2 separate regions of the Homo sapiens genome follow, and region 2 is linked to region 1. Evidence: promoter capture Hi-C in 16 types of primary human blood cells and fetal thymus (Javierre and others, 2016). All regions are on one chromosome and are shown on one strand. The core of a region is centred on a gene start or on the middle of the fragment in contact, and the rest is flanking DNA. Distances in the headings are between cores, read along the strand shown.

Region 1 (7,735 bases), core at 3,590-6,089:
CTGCGTCCAGGGCCTTGAACACCCCAGTCCACAGTGGGAAGTAATGGGAAGAGTGGAGGGAGGAGCACGGGTCATGAGGGTTCCAGACCCAGCCCCCAAATATCCATGAGACTCGGGCCTGGCTGCACCATCCATGGGGCTGCTTCAGCCACTGACAGCCACTTACTCACCTGGGCCATGTGGTGCGGGTATAGGACTTTGAGATTCTCTGCCAGGTGGATAGGCTCTAGGGACACCCAGGTGCTCTCTATGATGGAGACTTCCACGGTGGCAGTGGCCTGGTGGCCTGAGGCCTGGTCACCCATGTCCTTGACCTGTACCAACAGCTGGTAGGTCCTCTCCAGGGCGTGGTCAAGGCTGGTGCTCCCTAGAACAGGGAGGATGGTCAGCTGAGCAGGCAGCCAGGGAGCAGGGGCCAGGGCATCATTCTCAGCAAGATACCAGACACAAAACCAAGCATACAGCAGGTGATTGGGACACTCTCTTGGCCAAGGGAAGAGAGGAACTTTAAGCACTGTTGTGAGCCTCCAACAAGGACATGACAGTTTGCAAAGCCACCTCCATATCTCTCCACACAACGAATGCGTGATAGACTAGAGAGGTAGGTGGATGACCAGGATGAGGAGATGGGTAGATGGCAGATGATGGGTTGGTTGGATGAATGGGTGGTTGACTTGGTAGGTGGATGGGAGTTTGAGTGTGTGAATAGGAGAGTGTTTGGATGAGTGATGGGAGGTTGGATGGACTGTGTAGGTTGTTGGGCGGTAGACGGGTGAATGCGTGGCTGGCTATGATGATGCCTGATTCACTTTTCTTTCCAACCCTAGTTCATGCCTCTGGTCTGAGCTTCCAGGTCCAGGTCTCTTCCGCCATCAGTCGCAAGGTTGCCCAGCAGCATCTTAGGCTACAACCCCTTAGACTGTTCCTATCTTTGTCCCTTAGGCCCAGGTCTCCGTGGAGTGTGGAGCTGAGGCCCTCCATTCACACCATTTCCTAGCTCTCCATGCCTGGCCCTGCCTCCACAGCCCCCTGCCTTGTTGCTGTCTCCACCTAGAGTGCCCTTCCCTCCCTTTTTACCTCTCAAGCTCCCACCCATGCTTGTCTTATGGTTCAGATACCACCTTCTCCAGCTTTCTCTGACCCTCCCTCCCCAGCACACCCCGCTCGGGCTTACCCTTGGGGCTGAGGGCCAGAGCCCCCAGCCGAGGCTCCAGCTGGAACATGTCTGGGGAAGGCTGGGCTGGAGCCTGGCTCAGGATGTGGAATCGAAGATCCGAGTTGGCTGTGCCTGGCTCATCCCGGTCTGAAGCCTCAAGGAAGAGGAAGGGGATGCCTGGTTCACGGTGGGAGGGCAAACTGTAAGGGATAGAGAGGGTGGGGAGAGTCTCCCATGCCTCTCCTATTTCTCCTCTGTCCTTTCTTCCCTATCCATTATCACATCAGGACTCCGGAGATGAGCCACGGCTTTTCGTCCTACTTCCCAGATGAGCAAACTGAAGCCAAGAATGGATGGCACCCTCAGTGGAGTAGGGAGGAACAAGGTGGGACAGAAATGGTACAGGATGGGCCAGGTGCAGTGGCTCATGCCTGTAATTCCAGCACTTTGGGAGGCTGAGGCAGGCAGACCACCTGAGGCCAGGAGTTCGAGACCAGCCTGGCCAACAAGGCGAAACCCCGTCTCTTTTAAAAATACAAAAAAAATTAGCCGGGCATGGTGGCGGGTGCCTGTAATCCCAGCTTCTTGGGAGGCTGAAGCAGGAGAATTGCTTAAACCTAGGAGGTGGAGGTTGCAGTGAGCTGAGATCGCGCCATTGCGCTCCACTCCAACCTGGGTGACAGTGAGTCTCCATCTCAAAAAAAAGAAAAAAAGAAAAGAAAAAAGAGAAAAGAAAAGAAAAAAGAAATGGGACAGAAATGGCTGCCCTGTCCTATGCCAACTGTCTGGCCATCTCTTCGCTCTCTGCTGTTCCATCAAGGCCCACCTGACCTTACTGTAAATTGGCTGCCCTGGTCACTCACCAGGCCTGGTACCCCGGCTCAGCCGAGCTCTGTAGATGGCTTGAGAGAAATGGGGCACCTGGTCATTCTCATCCTTCACGTGCACAAGCACAGGCTGTGGACCCCACAAGACATGTCCATCCTGCATCTCCAGGGTGACCTGGCAGGGAAGGGGAGTCAGCGTCTGGCTCTGCCTTGCCTGCTCTCCCCTACACCTGGCCCAGCCATACCTGTAGCTGGTACTCTGCCTGCTCCTCTCGGTCCAGGGCCCTGGTCACCAGCAGGAAGCCAGAATCTGGATCCATAGCAAATGGGCCCTCAGTTGCCTTGCCTGAGTCCCCTGACAGCACGATCTGGCCTTCAGCCCCCTCACGGGGCAGCGGCAACTGATGGAAATGAACAGAAGTGAAGGGAGCGGTGGCCAGGCCTGGGAGATGCCCCTCCTCCACCTGATGGCCTCATTTTACATGTGGGGAAACTGAGTCTCAGAGACATCTGGCTCCTGTCAGAGGTCACACAGCCAGTAAGCATCAGGACTGAGACTCAGAGCCAGAACTCTTTTCCCTGGACCTGATGCTCCCCAAAACTCTCTGCCCTTCTTTCTGAAGCTTGAAACCTCACCACCGAGATTTCGTTCTTTAATCTAAAGCTCTGCTCTCCACTAGGATTAAAATCTGTTAGTCATTCCCACTGCAGGTTGAGCATCTCTAACCCGAAAATCTGAAATCTGAAATACTCAAAATCTGAAACTTTTTGAGCGCCAATATGATGTGACAAGTACAGAATGCCGCATCTGACCTCATGTGACAGGTCACAGTCAACACATAGTCAGAACTTTGTTTCATGCACAAAATCATTAAAAATATTCGCCCAGGAGCAGACTCACACTGGGCTCTTGGCCACTCAAGGATTCTGTCGGAATTTCACCTCTGTACTGTCAGCTCCTTCTGGCCATAGCCTCCCCAGCTCGCAAATCCCAAAGTGGTAATCCCAGCACTTTGGGAGCCCAAGACGGGCGGCTCACCTGAGGTGAGGTGTTCAAGACCAGCCTGGCCAACATGGCGAAACCCTGTCTCTACTAAAAATACAAAAAAAAAAAAAAAAAATTAGCCAGGAGTGGTGGTGCATGCCTGTAGTCCCAGCTACTCAGGAGGCTGAGGCAGGAGAATCTCTTGAACCCAGGACGTGGAAGTTGCAGTGAGCTGAGAACATGCTACTGCACTCCAGCCTGGGCGACAAGAGCGAAACTTCGTCTCAAAAGAAAAAAAAATGTATAACGTTACCTTCAGGCTATGTGTATAAGATGTATATGAAACATAAATGAATTTCCTATCTAGATTTGGGTTCCATTCCCCAAGATATCTCATGATATATATGCAAATATTCCAAAATCTGAAGAAAAAAAAAAATCCAAAATCTGAAACACTTCTGGTCCCAAGCATTTCAGATAGGGGACACTCAACCTGTGTAACGTGTACATACTCTCTGGAAAGCAGGATTTCAAAGAGAAACAGCAAGAGGAAGGGTGCCAGAGGAAGGAGAAGCAGGACTTTGCGGGGAGGGATCCCCCCGGCCCCAACCCCAGCTCTCCGGCTCACCTTGGTCAGGTATAAAGGGAAATTTCCACCATAGTTTTCTGGAACTTCCACAGACAGCTCTGCAGGCTGGGCCTTGGGGAGAGCCTGTGGGAGGATTCTCACCTTGTCACCAGGCTCTATCTTCCTGCGTGGGCACTGAGACCCAACAGAAGAGCGGAATTTCCGCCCCTTCCCAGGGCCTGGCTGTACCTTAGTCCATCCACCCGCGCTCTGGTCTTTGACCTCCTCATCCCACAGTGGCTCTATAGTCCCAGCTCTGACCCCTCCCATGCCTTGCACCGTTCTCACGGTCAGTGCAATTGGTCCAGGTGGAGTTGGGGGCAAGGGTGTCAACCCCCAAAGCCAAGACCTGAAGGAGAGGGGGCAGGGCCTAGCTCACCTGGGGGACGGAGACACAAAGCAGCCACAGCCAGGCAGGGACCATGGTCAGGACAGGCCTGAGGGACACGGCAGTGAGGATCCAGCCCAGGTGGGTAGGGAGGGGCTTTCCATCCCACACACACAACTAGTGGGATCGTACTGCAGACTAGTCTTCTCTTCCTCCCCTCCAAAGGAGCTGAGGCTCTCCATCTCCTGCAGGGTAGTGCCCTGCTCCTCGGCCAGGCCCACCAAGGCCCCCAGGCCCAGCCACCCTGCTTCTAGGCTCTTGGTCCATCAAGCACTCTATCAGAATTTCACCTCCAGACCTCCAGCTCCTTCTCACCATAGCCTCCCCAGGCCGCAGATCCCAAAGTGGTAATTTTCTAGCAATCCCCCAAATCACAAAAGTTTGAAGCTGGAAAGTTCCTGAAGACTTGGAGGGTCACTTCCTGAAGTCACCTCTTGTTGCAGGCAAGGCCTGAATGCTGGGGTCTGGCCAAGGTCACAGAGGACTTGACCACAGGAGGAGTCCTCCTAGCTCAGGGCCTCTGGGACTGTCCTGCCTCCCACTGCCACCTTCTAGACAAGGAGAACCCCCGGAGCAGGAGCCCGGCCCTTGTCTCATCATTTTCCAGCCCTTGTCATGGAGCTGGGCAGGCAGAGCAGCGACAAATCGACAACCCCTCTAAGATGAGGCCCTGGGAATTCTTTCCCAGATGGCGAGGACAGGGCAGTGTTTCTCCTTTCCCCACCACCAACCTCAGCCTCAGCCATGCCCTCCCCTCCACTCCCAGCCCCTCACCCTCCAGCGCCCAAGACTGGCTCCCTTGGTCCAGCTGCCAAGCAAGAAGAGAGCTCCTTCTCCAGGGGGCTCTGGCCAGGCTGGGCTGGGTGGGGCAAGGCAGGGCACTTGAGCAGGTAGGAGGGTTCAGCCACGCTTGCTCAGGAGTGGAAAAGGCCACTGGGCCCACAGCAGCAGGCCTGGCCCCGCCCAGCCCCCCAAGTTACTCATTGACTTTGGAAAGCCAGGAGCTGCTCAGCATCCGTGACTGCCAGCTCCAGGAGGTGGGGAGATGGTTGGCCTGGCACTCCCTCGACCCCAGCACAGCCCAGGAGGTATTCCTTGGCCCTCTGGTTCTGGACGTTACTTTTTCTGTGGCTCCAGACTTGGTCTGACTTATCTCCCAGGCTCCAGTGTCTGCAGCCACACCTTTTCACACTCTGTTCCTTTTGCATGGAACACCCTTCCCACTCATTCATCTGTGTGGTAAGCACCTGCTCATGCATGCTTCAGTGCTCAGCTCAAATATTCCTTTTTCCAGGAAACTTCCCCTATGTTCCCAGGCTTGTTCAGGAGCCTCCTCTGGGAATGCCCCTCCCCCTCACACCATGCCATGTGCTATCTCTATTAATACACAGAGGACACCAGCTTGTCATTGTCTGCCTCTTCCATTAGATTGGGAGCCCTTTGAGAGCAGAACTCAGGGACTCAGGAATGACCTGGCTCTCATTCTGCCCTGGCAGCTCCGCATGGCTTGTGGAACTAAGACAAGGAGCTGGAGGTTGCAAAGGATGGGTGAGCAGTACATGAGTGGAAGTGGGTATTGGGGCTCCAGACCACCCCCCCCAGGGGGACCTGTGGTGGGGGAGTGCAGCAGCCTATGAGCTCCCGAAGTCCTTACACTGGCCACTCAACAGTGACAGGGCTGAGACAGTGGGCAGTCTCATGCCCCTAAGAAGATTAAACTGGCTCAGGTGACCTTGAGGGAGTTGCAGGGCTGAACAGGGGCTCTCCCCGCAATGAGGGCAGCCAAGCAGAGCCAGGAGATGCTTCTGGGGCCTGGGAGTCTGGAATGAGGGGAGAGGGTGGGAAGAAGGTCTCCAGTCCCTCTCCAGCCTTGGAGCTTCCCATGGTCCCCACGAAGTCCTTCCCACTGTACATCTGATTAGTCTCTCTCAGGCCAGAAGCTACCCCCAGCTGCCCCCAGCCTTGTCACAAGCTGAGTGCCTGCTTCAGGGTCACTCTGGCACCCAGCCTGGAGCAGTGTAGTGTGGGGAGGTTGAAGGGGGTTTCACACGTGTTAAGCTCCTGCTCTGTGCCCAGCACTGCTCTGAGCACATACCTTCATTATGCCACATACTGCGTTCTGAAGGGGCATTGGGCACATGCTGGGGCACAGAGAAGCTGAGTGGTTTGCCTAGGGTCACACAGTCAATAAGTGACAGAGCCAGGAAGGCCTGGGGACCCTCACTTGATCTGAAAATACCATGCCTTCTGCATTCCTTGAAGTATGTGGGGAGGAGGGGCAGAGCAGCAACAGCTCTGAGCAGTTACCTCTGCCCTGGGGAGCACGTGGGTGAATCTCAGCGCTCCCCTGTACATGGAGGGGCAGCCCTCAAGCCTCCTCCTGCCATTCAATAAGCTGCAATCAGGATTCTAACCAGGTTGCCAGGGCTCCCTGGAGTCTGTGGAATGAATAAATTGAATAAATTGAACTAAGGAAGGAATGTATGGACCTTGGCCCAGAACCTTCTTAGAAACTGCCCCCCACCTTGCCCCAGGCTGCCTCCAGGCTTTGGAGATGGGCAGACCTGTATACCAGTCCCCACTCAGCCACTTCCCACCCAGCACCAGATGGGGATGGTTTTTCCTGAGACCATGTAGATAAAAACTCTTAGCAGCACTTGTGCCGAGGGTGAGGGAATGAATAAATTGAATAAATTGAACTAAGGAAGGAATGTATGGACCTTGGCCCAGAACCTTCTTAGAAACTGCCCCCCACCTCGCCCCAGGCTGCCTCCAGGCTTTGGAGATGGGCAGACCTGTATACCAGTCCCCACTCAGCCACTTCCCACCCAGCACCAGATGGGGATGGTTTTTCCTGAGACCATGTAGATAAAAACTCTTAGCAGCACTTGTGCCGAGGGTGAGGGAGCCATGGGCATGGGTGGGCAGGGAGACAGGTGCATCCCTAAACATAAGCACGAGTACACCTTCCTATACAAATGCAAGACCTCTCATTCCAGGCAGGGCGGGCTCCCGGCAGCTGTTCCCACCAAAACTGAATTAGCCAATGCTGAGCATGGAATGTTCTGGCCTGGATACTCATGGTAGAGAGAACAGTGAGTGCCTCCTCCGTAGCTCAACCCCAGTGAAGTGGTGGAGGAGCCATGTGGAGCTGTGTGTGCCTTCACAAACCACCCCTCGGAGGTCTCTATCCCCAACCTCAGCTGATTCCAGCCCCTCAAGAGGGAACAGGGCAGAAATACCAGCTGTGGAGCCAGATCCTGTCTGGTTGTGAGACCCAGGGTTCCTGCCTGGTTGTGAGACCCAGGGTTCCTGCCTGGTTGTGAGACCCAGGGCAGAATGTGCTCCCCTGAGCAGCCTGTTTCCCTTTATGGACAGTGAAGTGATTGAACCCTCAATCAGTTGGGCAACGCCAGGCCCCAGTGCAGAAAGAGAAGAATCTGGATAACAGGGACTGGGAGGGGTTTGTGTCTCCTGCTCCTTGAACCTCTAACCAGACCCGATGCCCATCCCAGCTGGCTAAATCTGGACCCTCACATTAACACATCATGGCCACACACTAGGGTGGGGCAGTGAGCCCCCATCCCTCAACTTCAGAAATCCTTCCAGCTCCTGAAGCGCCCAGATAGGAGGAAAGAGAGTCAACAGCCATGACTATCAGGAAATAGCCTTTATTACAAAAATCTGCATGTAAACAAATAGCTACCGCACTGAAGAGCCTCCCTCCAGGGCAGGCACACCCGGGCTGTGA
Region 2 (7,735 bases), core at 1,677-4,176, 210 kb after region 1:
CTGTCACCCAGGCTGGAGTGCAGTGGCTTGATCTTGGCTCACTGCCACCTCCTGGGTTCAAGCGATTCTTCTGCCTCAGCCTCCTGAGTAGCTGGGACTACAGGTGCACGCCACCACGCCCAGCTAAATTTTTGTATTTTTAGTAGAGATGGGGTTTTACCATGTTGACCAGGCTGTTTTCGAACTCCTGACCTTGTGATCCGCCCACCACAGCCTCCCAAAGTGCTGGGATTACAGGCGTGAGCCACCATGACCAGCCCAGTCTTTTTTTTTTTTTTGAGACAGAGTCTCACTGTGTCACCCAGGCTGGCGTGAAGTGGTGCAATCTTGGCTCACTGCAACCTCTGCCTCCCGGGTTTAAGCAATTCTCCTGCCTCAGCCTCCTCAGTAGCTGGGACTACAGGTGCGTGCCACTACGCCCAGCTAATTTTTTGTTTCACCATGTTGGCCAGGCTGGTCTTGATCTCTTGACCTCGTGATCCGCCCGCCTCGGCCTCCCAAAGTGCTGGGATTACAGGCATGAGCCACCGCACCCAGTTCAGTCTGTTTTTGATATACCCTGTTTACAAATGCCTGGGCCTCACAGGTTAGTCATGTGACACCAGAGTCATGCCTCAAAGTCATGAGGTTGGATGGGCCCTGGGCAGTGGCATGCCAGAGTTGTTGTCCTTCTTGGGTTATGGAGTAGCCTTTCCAAAAGACTTGGGTACTTACCAGTTCTCATCATCCTTGTCACAAGTGAACTGCTAAGGAGAGAAAACAAAACATGGAAAGAGAATCAGTATGTGGAATTAGAATTCCTCATTCTATCCTGTCTCCATGGCCAGAAGTTCCACACTGGGAAAGGGCAGAGGATGATCTTCAATATCGCATAATCACAAATTGGAGCCGGGTGCAGTGGCTCACGCCTGTAATCCCAGCACTTTGGGAGGCTGAGGCGGGTGGATCACGAGGTCAGGAGATCGAGACCATCCTGGCTAACACGGTGAAACCCCGTCTCTACTAAAAATACAAAAAATTAGCTGGGCATGGTGGCAGGCGCCTGTAGTCCCAGCTACTTGGGAGGCTGAGGCAGGAGAATGGCGTGAACCCGGGAGGCAGAGTTTGCAGTGAGCTGAGATCGCACCACTGCACTCCAGCCTGGGCAACAGAGCAAGACTCCGTCTCAAAAAAAAAAAATTGGGGGGAAATTAATCTGGTAACATGGAAATTTCTTTACAAGTAGTCATTTCCCTTTGACTTGGTAAAAGTCCACTTTAGAAAATGTAACCCAGAAACACTGGGGGAAGGTAACGGTATTTCATGGTAATGAGAAGCTGGAAGTAACCTAAATGGGCAACAAAAGGGATGTCCAGCAGCCCATAAAATCACAGCATGGTGAAGACAATGTCATATGTTTAGTGAGTGCTTAGTATATGCTAGGCACATGGCTGGGTGTTTCACATGCGTTTTCTAGTTTAATCCTAACCCGCCTGTGAAGTAGGTACTGTTTACTAGCAAGAAAACCGAGGGACAGAGAGGATAAGTAGTCTACCTGATGCCAGGCTTTTAACTGGATATTGGCAATATGTGGTGGCTGACCACTTAGGCTCTGTTGATGGATCTGGGAAATAAATAAGAAAAGCTGAAGAAATGTACAGAAATATGAGGAATGGGAGGTACCTTTGGATAGGAAAGGAGATAAAATCAAACCGGCAATCCTCTTCTGCCTTCTGTGGGATCCCCATGAAGGAGAGACTGGGGTCCTGCCTGAGTCTTCTGGAAACTGAGCAAGTAATCACCCAGGTGTTTTTGATTGGCACCAGCCTGACCTGACCTATCTTCCTGCCCTTCCATCCAACACCTTCAGAATCCACCTCTTCTGATGCTGCCTCCTATAGTTGCTTCCCACCCCCTGCCTCAAGCCTAAGAGAGACAGCCCTGTGGAATGAGGCTTTATAAGTCACAACCTTTACAGCCACCTGTCTTTTCCATTTTTATCTTGGCTGCTGCCACATCTCTTCCCCTCTGGGGAAATCAGGAGCTTCTGTAGCCCAGAGATGGAAAATCATGGGCTTTAGCCTTCCCAGCTGCTTGTCCCTGTAGTGCAGCAAGCTCCAAGAGATGAAATCTGCTTATTGATGCTCCTAGTGACATGAAGGACTCCAGGATGGCCAGCACTCTGGGTCCATTGCCACAAGTGCTGCTTCGTGCCCTGTGATTAGCTCTGGTCCACTGTTTTCCCATTGATCAGGCAGGGTCGAAGCACCTATATGTGTTGGACCCGTATAGCTGTTGGCAGGTGGGGTGCCAGTGATACAGGAGGAACATCGTGCAGGCTCACTTCCACAGGGCGGGTGGTGGGAAGCTTTGGGGGATGACTGGCCAGCTGTAGGGATAGAAGTGAGGGAGGTGAGTGCCTGTGCCTGCTATGAACAGGAGGGCTTCTGGCTGAAGGTAGAGGCTCTCTGCTAGACAAGGCTCTGGCCTCAGTGAAATGGCATGCCAGTTTGGCATGATATATTCCCATGCCCAGATATTCTGAAGGGGACACTGGCTATCTTCTGAATCATAGCTGTTCCCCTGCCCTTCCTTCCACAGCCCCTCCTGGCACTTCTTTTCATGCTTTCAAGCTTCATACCAGGCAGAATTGCCTAACATGAATTGAACACCTTCCCTATGCAAATTAATGAGTCCCTCAAGGGGCTTAACTTATTGGACCACTTAACAGAATACACAAGTATGGAGGAAAGGATTCATTCCAGTGCTGTGACGGCCTAGCAGAGGGAGCAGTTCTTTCTAGCAGATAGGATCAAAAGAGCTACATTATAGTCAAGAGGTATCCAATTTGGTTCAGTGTTGTGGTCTCTAAATAAAGTTAGGGATAGGGTCTCTGGCCAAAAGCGAACCTACTATCTATTATGTCTCAGTTTCTTTGGCAGTGCCAGATGTTCCTGCATACAATGCCCCACAGCCTCTTCCACAATCAGGCTCAGATTGGCAGGACAAACAGATATTGAGCCAGCTCTGCTTGTGTCTCCACAATGAGAGCAAAACCTCCCAGCTGGAGGATGGTAGATGGTGCTCCGAGCCCCTACCTGTGCTGCTGGCTGCCAAGCCCTTGACACCATTGCATGGAGGACTTCATAGTGCTTATTACTTGGCACCACTGATGGCGGAGTGTTAGGTGATGCCTATTCCTTTATCTCTGCCCTGCCCTGAGTTCTTAGAATTTCATCTGAGGCTGAACCCATTAAAGAGCAAGCTTCACAAAGGTCCTGAGGCTTTCTTGTTTCAACCAGATCCTCTTCATCAGGGACATAACTGAATACTGTCACACTTGTGTGACAAATATTATGGCTTGCTTTCTAATGGGATAGACCTCCCCCTCCATCTTTTTGTTTTGTAAACAAAATCAACTTCAAAATAAGCTATTTTCTTTCTTTCTTTCTTTCTTTTGGAGGAGTCTCGCTCTGTCGCCCAGGCTGGGGTGCAGTGGCGCAATCTCCGCTCACTGCAAGCTCTGCCTCCCGGGTTCACGCCATTCTCCTGCCTCAGCCTCCTCAGTAGCTGGGACTACAGGCGCCCACCACCACGCCTGGCTAATTTTTTGTATTTTTCAGTAGAGACACGGTTTCACCGTGTTAGCCAGGATGGTCTCAATCTCCTGACCTTGTGATCCGCCCGCCTCGGCCTCCCAAAGTGCTGGGATTATAGGCGTGAGCCACCGTGCCCGGCCTTTTTTTTTTTTTTTTTTTTGAGACGGAGTCTCGCTCTGTCACCCAGGCTGGAGTGCAGTGGCGCAATCTCAGCTCACTGCTACCTCCAACTCCTGGGTTCAAGCGGTTCTCCTGCCTCAGCCTCCACAGTAGCTGGGATTACAGGTGTGTGCCACCACGCCCAGCTAATTTTTGTATTTTTGGTAGAGACAGGATTTCACCATGTTGGTCAGGCTGGTCTGGAACTCCTGACCTCAGGAGATCCACCTACCTGGGCCTCCCAAAGTGCTGGGATTATAGGCGTGAGCCACCGTGCCCGGCTAAAATAAGCTATTTTCTAAAGCAACCCGACCTGGGTTTTAAAATGCAGCAAAATATGAGATGGGAGGAAGGGGGCTTAGTGCCCAAAGCAGAGCCTTAACAAGCTTCATGTCTGTGGAAGAGATCATTGTCCTATAGGGTGGTGTGTGCTCCAGCCTGACCCAGAAGTGGACTGCATGTAAGAGCCTTGACCCAGAGCATCCATGGACATCTGTTGAGCAGTCCACTAGGAGAGGGAAGCTAAGAGGTTATGCTGAAGGGGACACTGGCTATGGTTATGCTGAAGGGGAAACTGGTTTTTTCCCTGGTTTCAAAATAACAAAGGACTGTCATGGTGGCTCATGCTTGTAATCCCAGCACTTTGGGAGGCTAAGACAGGAGGATCATTTGAGCCCAGGAGTTTGAGACCAGCCTGGGCAACATAGTTTTTTAGTTTTGCTAAGATTCTATCTCTACAAAAAGTTTTTAAAAAAATTTTAAATGAGAACAAAAGATAACATGCAGTGCTTCCATAAAATTTCTATTGGTAATAGTTTTTTTTTTTTTTTTTTTTACTATTTATTCTATAAATGTATTTTTAATCATTTTTAGTCTGTCATCACTTTCAGAGCATTGACAACTCTTAAACTTTTTTTTAGGTGATCGAAGTATGTGATTTGACTAAAGTAAAGTTAAAATATTGGTAAGTTTTCTCCCCTGCTGGTATATGTCACACTTGGTATAGACAGGCCATATCTACTATCTTCATAAGTTAGTAAAGATTCACATCTGTCACAGATGTGAATTATAGCCTGGTGCCATGAATTCCTGAGGCAACCTTCAAGCCTGCTCAGTTTCCTGGAGAAGAGAAGTAAACCTCATTAAGAATATGTGATGTGTTTAACACTTCATGTATATGTCATCTAACTTAATCCACTTGACAAAGCCAGACCTCAGCTCAGAGGTGATGTGACAGTCTCCTGGGTCATAGCTGCCCTCCCGCTGACAGCCTCTCTTGGCACCTCTTTTCATGTTTTCATGAGTAACAGAGGTGGGACAAACCAGATAGGTCTGACTCCAAAGCCTATGCTGAAGAGAATGCCAAAGAGACCACCATTTTAGAGCTATAATGTATTTTTTAGAATTACAGCGGGGATGACATGCACAGTCCAAAGTTGTTGCGCCCCCATTATGGCAAGGCAGCATGCCTGCATCTAAAAATCTAGAATACTCCTTCCTTTCTTTCTTTCTTTCTTTTTTTTTTTTGAGACGGAGTCTCTCTCTGTCACCCAGGCTGGTGTGCAGTGGCGCCATCTCAGCTCACTGTAACCTCCACCTCCTGGGTTCAAGCGATAGAATACTCCTTTCAGTAAGTCTCCTTAACTGGCTTCCCTTTCCCTTTTTGAGGGTGTGAAGAGGACCTGATTCCTGGGGCAGGCTCAGGCAGTTTTGCTGATAGAGGAGTAGACAAGCAAATGTGTGGTACCACTGGCCCCTGCAGGTTCTAGTTGTCTTTTAGTTTTACTGGGGCCTTCATACCTCAGGGTCTGGTGGCTTCTCTTCTCTACCCTTTTCTTAAGAGTCACTGGTGTCATAAAGCCCCAGAGGATCAACTCTGTATATCAGCCTCATGAGAACTGACCTTCTCCTGACCTCATTAATGCTCTTATTTAAAAGTTCTCTAATTAAGCTTTGTATTTTGATATAATTAGAGACTCACCTGCCTGTGTCTTAAAAATAACTCTCCCAGCTACTATCTCACATGATCTGTGGGCCCATCTTGTGAAGCCTAGTATTAAAAAATATTTTTGTTTTTCAGTGGCGTGCATTTTAATTCTCAGGCCATAGCTCCTACCATTGAACAGATTGACCAGTCTTTTGGCGCAACCCATCCTGGAGGTAAGCCAAGTCCATCTGATTCCTCTGGTCATCAGTGGCAGTTCATAGCAATAAACCTGCCCGGTAGTGCCATCCCACCCCACTTCCTGGAGTCAGGCTCCCATAGGATTGTGGGGTTGGTACTTGGGTGTGAAGGAAACATCCTCCCCCTTGTTTTCAACCTAGTAGGCCAGTTTAGAAACAAGCCACAGGGAAGGTGTTGTCAGTCATTACTCCCTGCCAGGCTGGTTTATGTTAGCCATTTCAGATGCCAGTCAACCATGTTATTTTCTTCTCCCCCACCCCCAACAGTGTACAACTCCGCTGAGCAGCTCTTCCATCTCAACTTCAGAGGACTGTCTTTCTCTTTTCAGTTAGACTCATGGACTGAGGCTCCAAAGTATGAGGTTAGCCCTTCCTGTCCCCTGGTGTTTGTTGTATGTGTCTGTGGTATGGCTCAGCAGATGGTGTCATGGGATGGGAATAGAGGAGTGGGTATTAGATAGGCAGACTTTCTTTGGTTTCCATGTATTTGAGCTCTACAGGGTAAAGTGGTAGAGTGGGTGGGTTGACAGAGGAAGAACAATGCTCAGGCTGGCATTCCGAGGAAGAGGATACTTCCCACAATGGAGTGAGGTCAGGCTCACTTTTCAGAGATAAGTTCATTCATTCCTTATTTTCAAGCTCCTAATCAACAGTTTTCCTGGTGGCCTAGAATTTGGAGATTTCATCCTCTGGATTTTCAGTTACCTTTGTTTTTGCAAACATTTCATTCATCCTAGGGGCTGTGAAAATGATAAGCTTTCATAAGACTTATTTTAATTAAGGAAGCATTTCTGCATTTTCCCCTATGAAGAAAAGGAAAACTGACCGGGCATGGTGGCTCATGCTTCTAATCCCAGCACTTTGGGAGGCCAAGGCGGGCGGATGACTTGAGGTCAGGAGTTCGAGACCACGTTGGCCAACATGGTGAAACCCTGTCTCTACCAAAAATATTAAAAAAAAAAAAAAAAAAAAACAGGCCGGGCGCAGTGGCTCACGCTTGTAATCCCAGCACTTTGGGAGGCCGAGGCGGGCCTCCTGGCTAACATGGTGAAACCCCGTCTCTATTAAAAATACAAAAAATTTAGCTGGGTGTGGTGGCGGGTGCCTGTAGTCCCAGCTACTTGGGAGGCTGAGGCAGGAGAATGGCGTGAACCCGGGAGGCGGAGCTTGCAGTGAGCCGAGATCATGCCACTGCACTCTAGCCTGGGCGACAGAGCGAGACTCCGTCTCAAAAAAAAAAAAAAAATTAGCTGGTTGTGGTGGTGCACACTTGTAGTCCCAGCTACTCAGGAAGCTGAGGCAGGAGAATCACTTGAACCTGGGAGGTGGAGGTTGCAGTGAGCTGAGATCATGCCACTGTACTCCAACCTGGGTGACAGAGTGAGACTCCGTCTCAAAAAAAAAGAAAAAAAAAGAAAAGGAAAACCAAGCAGAATTAAAGGTGGACTTACATGGTTTTGGGGAGTTTACTGACCCAGAGCCAGAGAGCCAGGTTTAAGGGTGTACTTTGACCCTTTGACCTGAGCAGCTCTTGAAGACCATGAGTGACAGGGAAGACCAGAGCCTGAGTCCCATCACCTGTTGTGCCCTAAGTAAAACTCTTGACCTTTGTTTGCAGCCCAATTTTGCCCATGGCCTGGCTTCTCTCCAGATACCCCATGGAGCAACTGTAAAACGAATGTACATCTACAGTGGCAACAGCCTGCAGGATACCAAGTAAGTATAAGGAGCATGAGTTTCTTGCTAAGGCCTGGGCTGCCTGGGAGAAAGAACCAAGCCTCTGCTCATTCTGTGTCTGTCCCCAGGGCTCCCAT

What was found. The method cuts DNA at HindIII sites, captures the fragments that hold promoters and counts their contacts. A CHiCAGO score of 5 or more calls a contact.
Region 2: a contact is called between a fragment that was not itself captured here and the fragment with the promoter of CDH16 in region 1, in 2 of 17 cell types (erythroblasts and endothelial precursors). The highest score is 6.5, in erythroblasts.

The regions. Positions count from the first base shown.
Region 1 is chr16:66,914,046-66,921,780 of GRCh38, forward strand. It overlaps CDH16 (cadherin 16), which reads right to left and starts at 4,840. Exons shown (of 18, transcript NM_004062.4): 1 at 4,759-4,840; 2 at 3,976-4,033; 3 at 3,597-3,680; 4 at 2,229-2,384; 5 at 2,020-2,158; 6 at 1,175-1,333; 7 at 171-367. The coding sequence starts at 4,020. It overlaps RRAD (RRAD, Ras related glycolysis inhibitor and calcium channel regulator), which reads right to left. Exons shown (of 5, transcript NM_004165.3): 5 at 7,640-7,735. RefSeq lists an enhancer at 7,597-7,735. The HindIII fragment of the contact is 16,817 bases long and covers 2,605-7,735 here.
Region 2 is chr16:67,126,629-67,134,363 of GRCh38, forward strand. It overlaps PHAF1 (phagophore assembly factor 1), which reads left to right. Exons shown (of 16, transcript NM_025187.5): 4 at 4,658-4,701; 5 at 5,818-5,897; 6 at 6,189-6,283; 7 at 7,540-7,637; 8 at 7,727-7,735. Among named protein-coding and RNA genes, the nearest start is that of B3GNT9, 21 kb to the right of the region's middle. The HindIII fragment of the contact is 632 bases long and covers 2,611-3,242 here.